Linked DNA regions of Homo sapiens: all the other regions are linked to region 3. Evidence: promoter capture Hi-C in human tissues and cell types (Jung and others, 2019). All regions are on one chromosome and are shown on one strand. Each heading gives the region's core, a stretch centred on a gene start or on the middle of the fragment in contact. The rest is flanking DNA. Distances are from core to core; before and after follow the strand shown.

Region 1 (4,939 bases), core at 926-3,425, 410 kb before region 3:
CCCACACTGACTGCCTCTCTGTGGCAAACGTCACATATGTCCATCACCCACCCTATTTATTGCTCCTCCCTTCCAGAGGTGAACTTCCTCCATGAATTTCCCTTCCTGAAACTCATGATGGGAACATTAGGCTGTTGCAATACAAATTGGCACAGCTCAAGACATTCAGTTTAGAATGGGTTTTCAGGTGAGACTTCTTCCCTATATGAGAGTCACGAGGCTCTCAAATGCTGCTATAAACTAGCAAGGCTGGATTTGATCGTGCAATTAAGGTTCTAGCACTGCATAACTATCCAGGCTAAAGAGCTCATTTAAAAAGGGGAACTTAGAGGAAAATTCTTTTTTTAGAAAAGGAAATCTGGCTTGGACTTGGGTTATAGACTTCTTTTTTGAGTACAAATTCTGTAGTAACAAGATATTAACTGTCATCATCTTTTGAACTGGTCACTCAAGGAAAAAACTGATGTGCTTCAAAAGGAAACGTGCTGCATCATCGTTGTTGGAATGAGTAGAAAAAGGGGTGTATCATATACGGTAGTGTTTCCTTTCTCATAGCCAGTTAAATATTATCTCTATTATCTCTACCAGGAATACTTTATGGCCAACCACAAATTAGAGTAAGCTAGTAAAGAATGTTGATTTTTATTGACTATATTTTCTGTGGAACACAGGCTACAGTGCTAGATGAAGACAGGAAAGAAGGCTGATAAAAAACATATTTGTGGACTGTACTGACAATAATTTCTATTTATCAGTAAATTTCCCAAAGTGATAAAGATTCCCTTTACCTCTTGGGATCTACGCTTAGATCCTCTACTATTGTTTAAATAATCTATAAATTACTTATAGGCACCCTCTTCTTTTTCAAAGTTACTTTAAAGCTCATCTTTAACACAAAACACAGGAAATGAAGTAATAGTTTTCATAGAAGACTATTGAAAAAAAGAGAGTGGCCTAAGAATTTGTCTAGCTTAATTTTCTTTTTTTCTTTCTTTTTTTGTTTTTTTGAGACAGGTTCTTGCTCTGTTACCCAGGCTGGAGTGCACTGGCGAGATCACAGCTCACTGCAGCCTTGATCTCTTGGGTTCAAGCAGCCCTCCAACCTCAGCCTCCCAAGTAGCTGGGACTACAGGTGCACACCACCACACCTGGCTAATCTGTGCATTTTTTGTAAAGACAGGGTGACATCATATTGCCCAGGCTGGCATCCAGTTTAATTTTCTACTGAGGAATCTGAGGTCCCAACAGGAGAGAAATGTAAAGGATAAGAGTGATTGCCTCTGTTTTTTTTCTGATTACTAGGTATAATATTCATGTTGGAAAGCAGAGAAAAATGTTAAAAGGCAGGGAATCCTTTTATATTCTTAATTATATTCTTAATACAAAGGCAACCACTGTCAAAATATTGGCAGATTTTCTTCTGTCCTCTTTCCTAAATAGTATTTTTTTCAATATTGAAGGTATTATTTCCAGTATATGCAACTTTATGTCTTGTTTTTTAAAAAATGTTCACATATCATAAGCTTGTTCCCATAAATGTTAGCAAAAACTCCTGGTAATCATTTTCAACAACCGCATTATATTTTATCCAATGAATACACCATGCTTTATTTAACCATTCCTCTAATGTGAGACAAATATAAGTTGTTAATAACTTTTTGCTATTCTAAAAAATGCTATGATGATATTTGCCTGCAAATTATGGAGTAATTACAGAGTATTCTCCCCTCAGATAAATTCCTAAAAGGGAAATCACTGGAATAAAAAATATAAAGTATATGGGCAATAATCCCAATTTAAACCACGGTATCTCTTTTGTCTACATGACTTTCTAAGCACATTCAGAAACCCTACATGTAGGGGAGCCCAGATTAGTCATATGGGCCCACTCCCTAGCAAGGCATCAATAGCCCTTCACTTCCATGGTATCCTAAGTGCATCACTGAAAGTGGAAGTAGGGTGAGATTTAACAGGTCACGTAGGCCGTTTCCTATAAGCAGGATGTCCTAAAGAGCTTTTCCGATTGCACACTGGATTTGTTAAAAAGGGGAAGAGATTTATAGAGCCAAATAATTTGTCATCATTGACAGTAATGTCTTGTCAGATTTTGTGCTGACAAAGATTTATGAATCTATCAACTAGTAAAATTTTCCCTCCTTGCTAGTGAGCATGATCTAGAACATTAGTTTCTCTTCAGCTTTCTTTAGCTTTAGCCTAGTGATCTTTCATTTGACAAGTATCCACAAATTATACTTATTTCTGGCTAGAAAGGGCTCCCAGGAGCCTTGGTGTGTGCGGCATATTTTGGGATCTAAATAAGAAACTAGGTCTAGAATTGGTAGTTTCCCCAGTCCTCCATAGCACAACAAGACAGAAAAGTCAGTTACCGTTACTAACTTATCCAAAGGGAATGCTTTAAAAAATAGTAAAGGAAATTTCCAACTATCAAGAGCCATAAAAATGCAAAAACCACTACAATTCCTCATGTGACTTAAGGAACTCCTTTGACTCTGTTGTTTTTACCTCTCTATCAGATTCTTAATGTCTTTACCATTCAAATAATATTTGGTTGATTAAAAACTGCCTGAGGCAAACATTTTTAGGTATGGAGTTAAAATTATTTCTGAAGCAACATTTTCAAAATTTAAAAATTGCTCTGGCCAGACAGTGACAATAGAAGAATGTGAAGTGCAAAGAGTGGCCACTGAGATGTGCTCTTAGGTACCCAAAATGGAAACATTTCAATCCTTTCTGTAACTTTTCTGATCACTCTGCCTATTAAAGGCAGCAGCTATAGCCCTGGGACACATTTGAACTAAGTAACTGTGGTTACCAAATGCTGCAACTTCAATAATATTTAACAGAGAGATGCTTATTGATATGTCATGGCCAGACACAGTTTTGTTTCAAGGTTCACTTATTAATATTTTTGAAATTTAATGCCTGCTATAGTTTGGACATGGTTTATTTGTCTCCATCAAAATGCATGTTGAAATCTGATTCCCAATGTGGCGTTGTTAGGAGGTGGGGCCTAGCAGGAGGTGTTTGGGTCATAGGGGTGAAACTCTTGTAAATGGTTGGTGCCATTCTTGCAGTAGTTGAGTTCTCCTTCTGAGAACTTAGTTTCCAAGAGAGCGGGCTGTTAGAAAGCGAGGATCTTCCTCCTGTTTGGTCCTCCCTCTTGCCTGTGTCTGTTCTCCTTTGATCTTCTCTGCCATGTTATGATGCAGCACAGAAGCCTTTGCCAGAAGCCAGGACCATGTCCTTGAACTTCCCAGGCTGCCGAACAGTAAGCTAAATAAACCTCTTTTCTTTACAAGTTACCAGCCTCACGTACTCTGTTATAGCAACACAAAATGGACAAAGACAATGCCCCAATACAATGAACTCCAGAAGTTGGAAAATGAAAAAGCTCAAGCAAACATGTCAATATATTAGGTGCCATAGAGGATGCCAATGAAGGTTTTTCTGGTTGTTTTTAAATTGTCTAAAACAGAAATGGCATAATAGTTACACTGGTGGAAATTTCTCATATAAAAACCACCATTTTATGGTGGCCCTAAATACTTACCCTTTCCTGGGATGTTTGATAGCGAAGGTGAAGGGCTGTGGGATCCCAATCCACAGCGATATAGGCATTTCCAATGAAAGCTCTGTCTTCCCCACAATCAATTTTACAGCCTCTGCAAAATCTAAAAAGGGGGAAAAGATCCACAGAGGAAGAAATAATTATGAAGGAATCTAAATTTTCTTAATAAAAAATATTCTCCCTTCCTACTTTTCTGCTTTCCTCTTGGGCCTCACAATTTGTCATGGGCTTCTAACTTCAGACTCTGATAAATGTAGGGATACTTATTAATAATTAGTACAGTTTCAGGGAATCATGCTTTTCATTTTTCAAGTCTTTATTTTTACAAAGTACTTGATAACCACCTGTTAATCACAGGAAGATGTGAACTTTATGGCAAATAAATGACATGGGAATTGCCTGTTTGAGATACTACAGCACTCAAGAAATTCCAAATTCAGTTATTGAATGCTCTGAGGTAGGACAATTTATCTGGTGTAACACCTAGCTCCTTGTCTGTAAAATGGCAGATTAAATAAATGCATATAAAAGTTTACAGGGGCCGGGCATGGTGGCTCATGCCTGTAATCCCAGCACTTTGGGAGGCCGAGGTGGGTGGATCACCTGAGGTCAGGAGGTCGAGACCAGTCTGACCAACATGGTGAAACCCTGTCTCTACTAAAACTACAAAAATTAGCCAGGCATGGTGGCAGGCACCTATAATCCCAGCTACTTGGGAGGCTGAGGTGGGAGAATTGCTTGAACCTGGGAGGTGGAGGTTGCAGTGAGCCGAGGTTGCACCACTGCACTGCAGCCTGGGTGACAGAGTGAGACTCTGTTTAAAAAAAAAAAAAAAAAAAAAAAAAAGTTTATAGAGTTGCAGAGGTGGGGTGGGAGATGGGGTAGGGGGGAGGATATAATAAAGTCATGGTTCCAATGCCTACTTTATTATTATTATTATTTTTCTTGAGATGGAGCCTTGCTCTGTCGCCCAGGCTGGAGTGCAGTGGTGCGATCTGAGCTCACTGCAAGCTCCGCCTCCCGGGTTCAAGCAATTCTCCAGCCTCAGCCTTCCAAGTAGCTGGGACTACAGGTGCCCGCCACCATGCCTGGCTAATTTTTTGTATTTTTAGTAGAGATGGGGTTTCACCGTGTTAGCTAGGATGGTCTCAATCTCCTGACCTCTTGATCTGCCCGCCTCCACCTCCCAAAGTGCTGGGATTACACGCGTGAGCCACCACGCCTGGCCAATGCCTACTTTAGACTCAGTTTGCTAAGTCTATTGCAGTTCTCTAAAGGCGGACTTTAGTATCATTAGGCACTTTCCCTGTTGTAACAGCAATGACCAATCAATCTCCGTAACTCTTTAAA
Region 2 (5,048 bases), core at 1,906-4,405, 370 kb before region 3:
CTGGCCAGGCTGGTCTTGAATTCCTGACCTCAGGTTATCTGCCCGCCTGGGCCTCCCAAAGTGCTGGAATTACAGGCGTGAGCCACCATGCCCATTCAGTTTTTCTTTTCTTTTTTTTTTTTTTGAGACAGGGTCTCGCTATGTTGGCTAGGTCAGTCTTGAACTCCCGGCCTCAAGCAATACTCCTGCCTGGGCCTCCCAAAGGGCTAGGATTAAAGGCGTGAGCCACTGTGCCCAGTGGACATAAGTTTTCTACTTAAAGTAGTGATATAAAGTTTCCTTTGAAAATATGATTAAATAACTAATTAATCACAAACAGTTATAAATTTCTTTGTTCCTTGTCTGTTACCACTGCTTCACTTTAGTAGCCAAAAAATTTTTTTAAATTTTAAGTAAAAATGGCATAATTATTTATGTAAGTTAACTGTATGGCATTACATGAGAAAAATGGTGACCATAGTTTAAAAAAATGATTAAGAAGTAGGAATCTATATTACATATGAATTTTGGACCATCAATTTTTAAAATTTAGATGGTTCACCAAAGTAGTCAAAATTCTTTTTTTTTTTTTGAGACAGAGTCAAGCTCTGTCGCCCAGGCTGGAGGTCAGTGGTGCAGTCTCGGCTCACAGCAACCTCCGCCTCTAGCTTCAAATGATTCTCCTGCCTCAGCCTCCTGAGTAGCTGGAACTACAGGCACCTGCCACCACACACAGCTAATTTATGTATTTTTAATAGAGACAGGGTTTCACCATGCTGGCCTCAAACTCCTGAACACAAGTGATCCACCTGCCTTGGCCTCCCAGTGTGCTGGGATTACAGGCGTGACCCACTGTGCCTGGCCTAGAAACCAAAATCCTGTAGACAAGACAGTAGAACCAAAATGATCTATGTCAAAAAAGAAGTATAAATTAGTCCTAAGTGTTAATTTTCTTAAAGATAATATCAAGCTTCTCACAGCTTTTCTAATATGGAATTCATACCAACACAAAATACATGACATTTAAATTAGGTTTCTTTTTTCTTTTTCTTTTTTTTTTTTTTTTTAATTAAAACAAGTTTTGGCCAGGGATGGTGGCTCATGTCTGTAATCCCTGCACTTTGGGAGCCAAGGTGGCTGGATCACTTGAGCTCAGGAGAGTTGGAGACCAGCCCGAGCAACGTGGATAGATCCCGTCTTTACAAAAAAATATTAAAAAAAAATAGTGGGGCATGGTGGTGTGCACCTTTAGTCCCCAGTAACTTGAGAGGCTGAGGTGGGAGGATGGCCTCAACCCAGGGGGTGGAGGTTGAAGTGAGTTGAGATCATGCCACTGCACTCCAGCCAGAGCAACAGAGCGAGACTCTTTGTTTTTTTTGTTTTTGTTTTTTTTTTTGGTAGAAATGGAGTCTTACTGTATTGCCCAGGCTGGTCTCAAACTCTAGCCTCAGGTAATCCTCCTGCCTCAGTCACCCAAAGTGGTGGGATTACAGGTGTGAGCCACCTCACCTGGTTAAATTAGGTTTCAAAAGAAAATTTTCCATAAACATAAATGCCTTATTATTTAAATCAATTCAACTTTTTTTTTTCACTTATGCTTTTTGATTTTTTTAGTCTGGAGTATAGCAAAGGCTCTTTTTTTAATACAGGGTCTTGCTCAGTCGCCTATAGCTCACTATACCCTTGAACTCCTGAGCTCAAGTGATCCTTCCACCTCAGCTAGGACCACAGGCATGCATCACCATGCCCAACTAATTTTTAAAGTTTTCATAGAGATGGGGTCTCAATATGTTACCCAGACTGGTCTCAAACTCCTGGAGGATCCAAACAATCCTCCTGCCTTGGCCTCCCAAAGTACTAGGATTACAGGCATGAGTCACCCGGCCAAAGGCATTTTTTCATTTTTAAAGTTCTCTATGTGATCTCACTACATATGCAGCCAGAATTAATAACTATTGCCCTAGTGAGGATTATAGTCTCATGCATTTGTTTTTATAATGTGCTCCAGATGTTAAGAGCTTAGAAATTGACTTGTTATTAAATCTGCTACCTGCTCTGGAACTTGTGTTTTAGAAGAAGATTTAGATTTATTTAGTTTTCAGGTCATTTGCTTCCTGCCCATAAAGATGGAGCAAGACAGACAGCAAAACCATTTTGAAAGAGTAACAGCGCCACCTTTGAGAAAAATTAAAGTCTTCCAAGTCACTTTGTTTTCCTCCAGAAAAATCACTTTAGTTTTGCTATAAGTGATCTTAAATGATGTTTCAATAACCATCACATTTTTGGCAAGGTAATCCGTTTATAAATTTATACTCACTTCTATATTCCATTTATATAAAGTTGATGCATTACAAATTACTTTTTTTTTCCTTCTTTTTTTGAGACAGAGTCTCGCTTTGTTGCCCAGGCTGGAGTGCAGTGGTGCAATGTTGGGTCACTGCAACCTCTGCCTCCTGGGTTCAAGCAATTCTCCTGCCTCAGCCTCCGGAGTAGCTGGGATTACAGGCACGCACCACTGCGCCTGGCTAATTTTTGTATTTCTGGTGGAGACAGGGTTTCGCCACGTTGGCCAGGCTGGTCTTGAACCCCTGACCTCAGGTGATCCACCTGCCTTGGCCTCCCAAAGTGCTGGGGTTACAGGCGTGAGTCACTGCGCCCGACCACAAATTACTTTCTAAAAAATTTGTAGTAATATATTTTGAGGAAGATTGGGTCTATTTGAGCAAACAATTTTCTTCAAGTTTTCCTCTAAGATGGGCATGTAAGAGAATTTCAAGGAGTAATATTTGGAATTGTATCTTAAATGTTTTAACATGTTTGAAAGTCTTACATGGTGCCTATGTTTCTAAAGAAAATGTAAATGAAACCATTCCTGTAATAATGCTTCTCATTCTGAAGAGCTCAGTCCATAGGTTAAATCTATATATATCACTGGCAAGAAAACAGGATAATAAAAATATTACCAGGCATTAAATTTGCTAGGCTAAATTTTATAATAATTTGTGAACAGGATGATTCTAATAACTTCTCAGAGATTGCAACATTTGCCTCTAGCAACTGCGGTTCTACCACATGCTTTTAACATGGTACAGTGAGTAATAACCTTTAGACTTGGAGAATATGGGCTTTTCTTTGCTTCTCTTCCAATGCTCCAAACAAACTAGACTGGTCTGTCTTCTCATTGTCTTCGGCTTTCTTTTCTATTACAGGAACCTGATGCTCTCACTGTTCTCCACTGCCTGAAACTGTCAGCACAACTCAGGTTCCTTCTTCCCCTTCCTACACGCTTATTTTTCTTGTTCCTTCTACCCTTCTTGGCTTTCAGTGAAATAGCTACCTTTTCATCCGATTAATCTTATTACCACTTTCCTTCTATAAGATGAACAAACCAATCACAGTTATATATTGCAGAATCTTAGAGTCACTAGCTTTTTTTGACTGTTCATTTCTGGCTGCTTGCGGAAATTTTTGTTTTTCTAAAACATCAAAGGATCATGTTTTGTTTTTATTGACTTCAGGGGTCTGGAACTATTCAAAATTATCCTAGAACCCTGGTTTTCAGAAGATAGATTTCTAAATAGGTAAAGTTTCACCTGTAGAGAGAAATGTCCTCATTTTCTGAGTCAACAATTCACAAAAGGACTAGGTACTTATTTTAATATAAGAGAATTTTATTTTGAGATTTTAGGATTCCCTGTGAGTTGTATAAATAGTTTATGTGTTCTAAAATATGGGTCAAGATTCACCTTTTTCTCTATTGATGATACTACTACTTTTTATGCCCTGTACATAGGTATGTTACAAGAATCAATTAACAGTTATGTCAATTTCATATTTCACTAGTGACTGAAATGCTAGCTTTGGAAAAATAGAGGGCAGCATGGAGCAACAGATTAGGTACTAAGGCAGGACTCAGGACACTGAGCTCTAGAGTGCTAGATAAAGTAATAAAATAATTGTCTGATACAGCTTTGGGCAATTATAAAACCTAAGGACCTCAGAGGCTTCATTTGTAAATTCAGAGAAGAGAGGTGTTTCATTCCTTTTATTTCCCACTCAACTACACATGTCTGAGGCAGGAAAACAAGGCTGCCCCACTCGTGGCAGTCCTGACGACGATCCTCGAGGGCTGCTCTTGGCCTCCAGCCTTGGCTAAGGAGAACAGGGACCCCCCAAAGCCCATGGGAGAGAGGCACGAAAGGTGATTTAAAGTATCTTCTAGCTCTAAAGTTACGTGATAACTAAATAGGAAAATCTGCATGTGAATAGTAATAGCTGCTCCTTCATAGTTCTCAAAAAGGAAGATACACATTATGTAATGTAATAATGATAGAAAAGATTTCACCATTCTTCCCCATTTACATTTTTTTAGGAGATTACACATAGAAGAATAAAGCTTGACACATTAAAGCGGGGAAAGACTGGTAAGATTCCATGAGCAGAGACACAATCAAATTATTCATGCTCCAGTGAATCAGCAAATCTGGGGTTAGCCACTTCTAAGAAAGGATGGCTCATTTTTCCTGATCCCTTGGTCTCTGATCTTTCCATTTAGTCTTGCCAGTATTTGAAACATACTACCCTCACAATTAGTAATATTCGTAAGTAAATATGTCATTTTATGAAGAGAAAAAATTAAAGCTAAGTACTCTCTTAGGTAGGCAGATGAAGCTCTAAGATCAAATTATCTGACATGTCAACACTAATTTTCTTTTTCTTTTTTTTTTTTTTTTTTTTTTGAGATGGAGTCTCACTCTGTCATCCAGGATGGTGTGCAGTGGCATGATCTCGGCTCACTGCAACCTCTGCTTCTTGGGTTTAAGCGATTCTCCTGCCTCAGCCTCCCAAGTAGCTGGAACTGCAGGCACACGCCACCACGCCAGGCTAATTTTTATATTTTTAGTAGAGTCGGGGTTTCACCATGTTGGCCAGGCTGGTCTGGAACTCCTGGTCTCAAGTGATCTGCCTGCCTCAGCCTCCCAAAGAGCTGGGATTGCAGGTGTGAGCCATTGCACCTGGCCCAAATTTTTTTTTTTTTTTTTTTTAAACAAGGCGTTTGTCAAAGTGGC
Region 3 (4,338 bases), core at 556-3,055:
AATACCTATGAGAGGAAAAATAACCTCCTGTACTTGAAAAGTTGCAAGGGAGGTAGTTTTGCTAAGTGATAAACCGGGTTTCAGTTGGAATGGGAAGTTGATGGGAACATTTACAGAAGAGGCTAAGAATAAAGGGGAAGTGGTTGATGGCAGATGTTGAAATCAAAAGTGTGAAGTGAAATGGTTAGGATATTTGGTGAAGAGTGGGATATGGAATCAGAGTAATTGAAGCAGAGAGTAGCATGGAGATACTAGAGCAATAAACGGATGACGCAGATCCTACTGGTTGTGATTGAGGTGGAAAGGATTATAAAGCATGATGGAATTATCTTTTGGTAATCTCTTGGGTCAAACGTGGTGAACGGTAAGATGAATAATATAGAGCTACACAAACCGTTCTTGTGATATGGAGGCTGCTCCCTAATTACAATGCTAATATTTCATTTAGGATTTTTGTATTCATCGTTACAAAACAGGGTCTGTAGGTTTCCTTTTAGTGTTCATAATGCTTAGGTTTTACTAACAGGGTTATGATTACCTCTCCAAACAAGCTGGGATTTTTTTTTTCAAGCGTTTCCATGCCCTGGAACCATCTGGTCTAGTGCTTTTTGGGGTAATGAATATCTTCAATTGTATTTATTTTTACTTAGTTGATCTATTCAGATTTTCTACATTTTCTTGAGCTGATTTTGCTTATTTATATTTTTATTGATATAAAGATTTTTTCTATTTTTATTTCTTGTGCCAACTGTATGTACATTCCCCCCATTCCCGTTTCCATACTGTTTTTAGGCCATTTGAAAATCTCAAAGGTTTTACAGGAAAGTACAGATTGATGAAGAAATGGCCAAAAACGGGAAAAGTGAACTTTAAAGTGATTCAACTACAAAACGTATGCTACTGAGCAAATACTAGTGTATTCCTCGCTCTGCGGCTTAACTCCATGAAAATCCGTGCAAAGGTTTTAGCGTTGGGATTGTGACCGACTCGGTGAAGAGAGGGGACGATCACCAAACCGTTAGAGCACTGGGGCTCTTGGCAGTGTTTGTCAGTTATTTTCAAGTGATAACTTGAAGTGATACCGCAGGAATAAAATGCTGTATCCAGAGCTGGTCGGAACGAGCACTACCTTTAACAAAAGCTGAAAAGATCTGCCTAGGAATTCGTTAGAATACAGCCCTCTTACGTCTCTGACATACCTAGTTATGTGAACCGAGACTGTGCAGCTGACGGTGGAAATTTCCTAAGTGCTTTTTAAACAACAGAACTGGACTCCCTCCCTCCTCCATTCCCAGTCGAATACGTCCCACCCAGATCCAGCTCAAGGGTGCAGCACTTGTTCCGGCCAGCTCACAATCGCCCTTTGGAAGGGAGGTTTCCCGCCATTTCGCTTAGGAGGAGGGTGAACTCTTCTCCCTTCATTCTCCACTCGCTGGGGGCCCGAGCCCACACCACCTTCCTAGCAAAGCAAGCAGCGGGACGCCAAGGCCAGCAGGCCGCATTAAGAACGCTGGACTGAGCCAAAAGCCTACACAGACCAAGCCGCTCGGGAAAGGATCAACAACTGCCGACAACCCGGAGGGCGAAAACGCCCGCGGCGTAGGGGAAGCAAACTAGGAGATGCGCGGGCCCAGCGCCAGCGGCGGGAGGAGGCAGCGCGGCCGTCGCAGGCGGGAGCGAAGGCGGGGACGGAGGGCGGGCTCGCTCCACTCGACTCCGGATTGGTCGAGCTTAGAGAGCCGAGTGACGTCAGCGGGGGAGAACGCCTGATTTGTGTGGTGGGCGCGGGCGGTGGGGGGAAGCGCAGTGCGCAGGCGCAACTGCCTGGCTCTGCTCGCTCCGGCGCTCCGGCCCAGCTCTCGCGGACAAGTCCAGACATCGCGCGCCCCCCCTTCTCCGGGTCCGCCCCCTCCCCCTTCTCGGCGTCGTCGAAGATAAACAATAGTTGGCCGGCGAGCGCCTAGTGTGTCTCCCGCCGCCGGATTCGGCGGGCTGCGTGGGACCGGCGGGATCCCGGCCAGCCGGCCATGGCGGGGCTGTACTCGCTGGGAGTGAGCGTCTTCTCCGACCAGGGCGGGAGGAAGTACATGGAGGACGTTACTCAAATCGTTGTGGAGCCCGAACCGACGGCTGAAGAAAAGCCCTCGCCGCGGCGGTCGCTGTCTCAGCCGTTGCCTCCGCGGCCGTCGCCGGCCGCCCTTCCCGGCGGCGAAGTCTCGGGGAAAGGCCCAGCGGTGGCAGCCCGAGAGGCTCGCGACCCTCTCCCGGACGCCGGGGCCTCGCCGGCACCTAGCCGCTGCTGCCGCCGCCGTTCCTCCGTGGCCTTTTTCGCCGTGTGCGACGGGCACGGCGGGCGGGAGGCGGCACAGTTTGCCCGGGAGCACTTGTGGGGTTTCATCAAGAAGCAGAAGGGTTTCACCTCGTCCGAGCCGGCTAAGGTTTGCGCTGCCATCCGCAAAGGCTTTCTCGCTTGTCACCTTGCCATGTGGAAGAAACTGGGTAAGTTCCCTGGCTTGTTTGGCGCCCGCCCCTTTTTCAGGCAGTTCAGGGCTTTTATGGCACCAGCCCCGCGTGGGCCCCCGGCACCCAGAGCGCAACCAAAGTATACACTGATGGAAGTGACTAAAAGCTGTAATAGCGCTTTGCTGGGTGGAGGTCCGGGCAAACCAAGCGGCCTTGGGGAAGATAGGATTGCCGTCTCCCTGCAGCCTATTCTTGCTTTATTTCCATCCTCCAAGGATCAATGGGAAGCAGTCCACTCCCTTCCCTGCTTCACTTTGGTGGCAACCAGAGGAAACGTGTTTGAAACCTGGCGCCAGATTTTGGCCAAAAGATAAATCGATGTTGCACCTGGGCCAGGCGAAGGAAAAACTGTAGTGTTTCCTTAGAGAATCTGTCATAATTCTGCTCCTGAAAGTCTTATCCCTCTCGGTTGCCTCCTACCGGTGGTGTCAGTTCTCCAGATTGACCCGGGATTGCTGGGGTTGGTTGCTGGAGTAAAGCGTAAGCTAATTTAGAAGGGCTGAAACGTAACCATCCGGCAACTTAAAGTTTTGGAAGGAATTCCGTTGTAATGATGGTGAGATGTTTTTAGGATCATAAACCTGTACTGCTTATGAAAACTAAAAACGCGGAACGTGTTGTTACCTCTTAAAAACTGGCCCCGTGTTAAGGGTGTGCGTTAGATTCTGCTTGGGTTTTCTTTTTGGAAATTGCCTTAGCTGATTGCTTTCAGATAGTTCCCAACCGGTTGTTCCTAGTTTAAAAAGTACTTATAAATTGTAACTGCCCATCAAAATAAGAAAAGGCAAGGAATTACTGTATGCTAGAAGGAAATAAAGGTCTTAAATGTCTAAAAATTTCGGTGTAGTTGTAGTTTCATCTAAGTTTTTTTAAATGTTTGTAAAGCAGGCAGGATTTCTGTGCCCAACATTTACAGAATCATCTTACAGCATTATAATTGCTTATCTATTGCAGTGAATAAATGGCATGCATCTTTGTTAGAGCAAAGAAGACAATACTTCCAGTGGTGGGAAAAAACCTTGTTTATGGCAGCATAATAACGTTGCTTTATTTTCAGCAGAGGGATAGAGACATAGAGAAAAGAGTTAGATTTAGCAAATACAGAACATTTTTAGAAAGGTATTGTCATAGAGTTGTAGATTAGCCGGTTTCAAAGTCTGTTTTCCATTTGCTTGGCTTTCTGCCAAGAGTTAGTTGATTGACTCAAAAACCAGCCACTAGGCTTGTTGGAGGCGTTTCCCATCCATCCCAGGGGCCCCTCTTTATGGATTTATTTTGTTTTTGTGTAGGCACCGTAGAGCTGAAAGCACTGTAGTGTATTGTAGAAATATGTGATATCATTGACTGCAGGGCAACGAGAAGTCGACAGCAGCACAAGAGAGGAAGACTAGGCACAGAACTATTTAGAGTGCTGTTTATTTTGCAGTATACTTGGAGTAACATGAATTTGCCATATGTTTGAACTTTAAGGATAAAAAATCTTTAAGGTATAAACTCCGTTACATTAGTATTAAATTTTTTTTTTTTTAAGAGACGGGCAGGGGCGGGGGACGGGTGTGGGCCGCCTTACTTTGTTGCCCAGGCTGGGCAACAAGCGATCCTGGGCTCAAGCGATCCTTCCTCCTCGGCCTCCGAAAGTGCTGGAATTACAGGCGTGAGCTACCCTGCCGGACCTTCAGGAACATTTTTTAATAAAGCAGGGGCCATGCTGTTAAATGTAAATATGTATGGTTTAGTTTTACATACACAGACTTTTCGAATTAAGCTGTCACTCTTATGATGCATAAAGTTTAGAGCCTTATACTCCAGAAAAAT

The links. The method cuts DNA at HindIII sites, captures the fragments that hold promoters and counts their contacts. A contact is called where the count stands out against the background at its distance.
Region 1: a contact is called between a fragment that was not itself captured here and the fragment with the promoter of PPM1D in region 3, in 1 of the 25 tissues and cell types used here (IMR-90 fibroblasts).
Region 2: a fragment that was not itself captured here is called in contact with the fragment with the promoter of PPM1D in region 3 in 1 of the 25 tissues and cell types used here (dorsolateral prefrontal cortex).

Annotation. Positions count from the first base shown.
Region 1 is chr17:60,186,992-60,191,930 of GRCh38, forward strand. USP32 (ubiquitin specific peptidase 32) reads right to left here. Exons shown (of 34, transcript NM_032582.4): 29 at 3,572-3,692. Among named protein-coding and RNA genes, the nearest start is that of CA4, 39 kb to the left of the region's middle. The HindIII fragment of the contact is 9,453 bases long and covers 1-4,939 here.
Region 2 is chr17:60,227,473-60,232,520 of GRCh38, forward strand. All of the region lies in intron 12 of USP32 (ubiquitin specific peptidase 32), which reads right to left. It also overlaps SCARNA20. Among named protein-coding and RNA genes, the nearest start is that of CA4, 80 kb to the left of the region's middle. The HindIII fragment of the contact is 6,309 bases long and covers 2-5,048 here.
Region 3 is chr17:60,598,388-60,602,725 of GRCh38, forward strand. It overlaps PPM1D (protein phosphatase, Mg2+/Mn2+ dependent 1D), which reads left to right and starts at 1,806. Exons shown (of 6, transcript NM_003620.4): 1 at 1,806-2,499. The coding sequence starts at 2,028. RefSeq lists enhancers at 739-1,727, 1,728-2,715, 1,876-1,925. The HindIII fragment of the contact is 15,450 bases long and covers 1-4,338 here.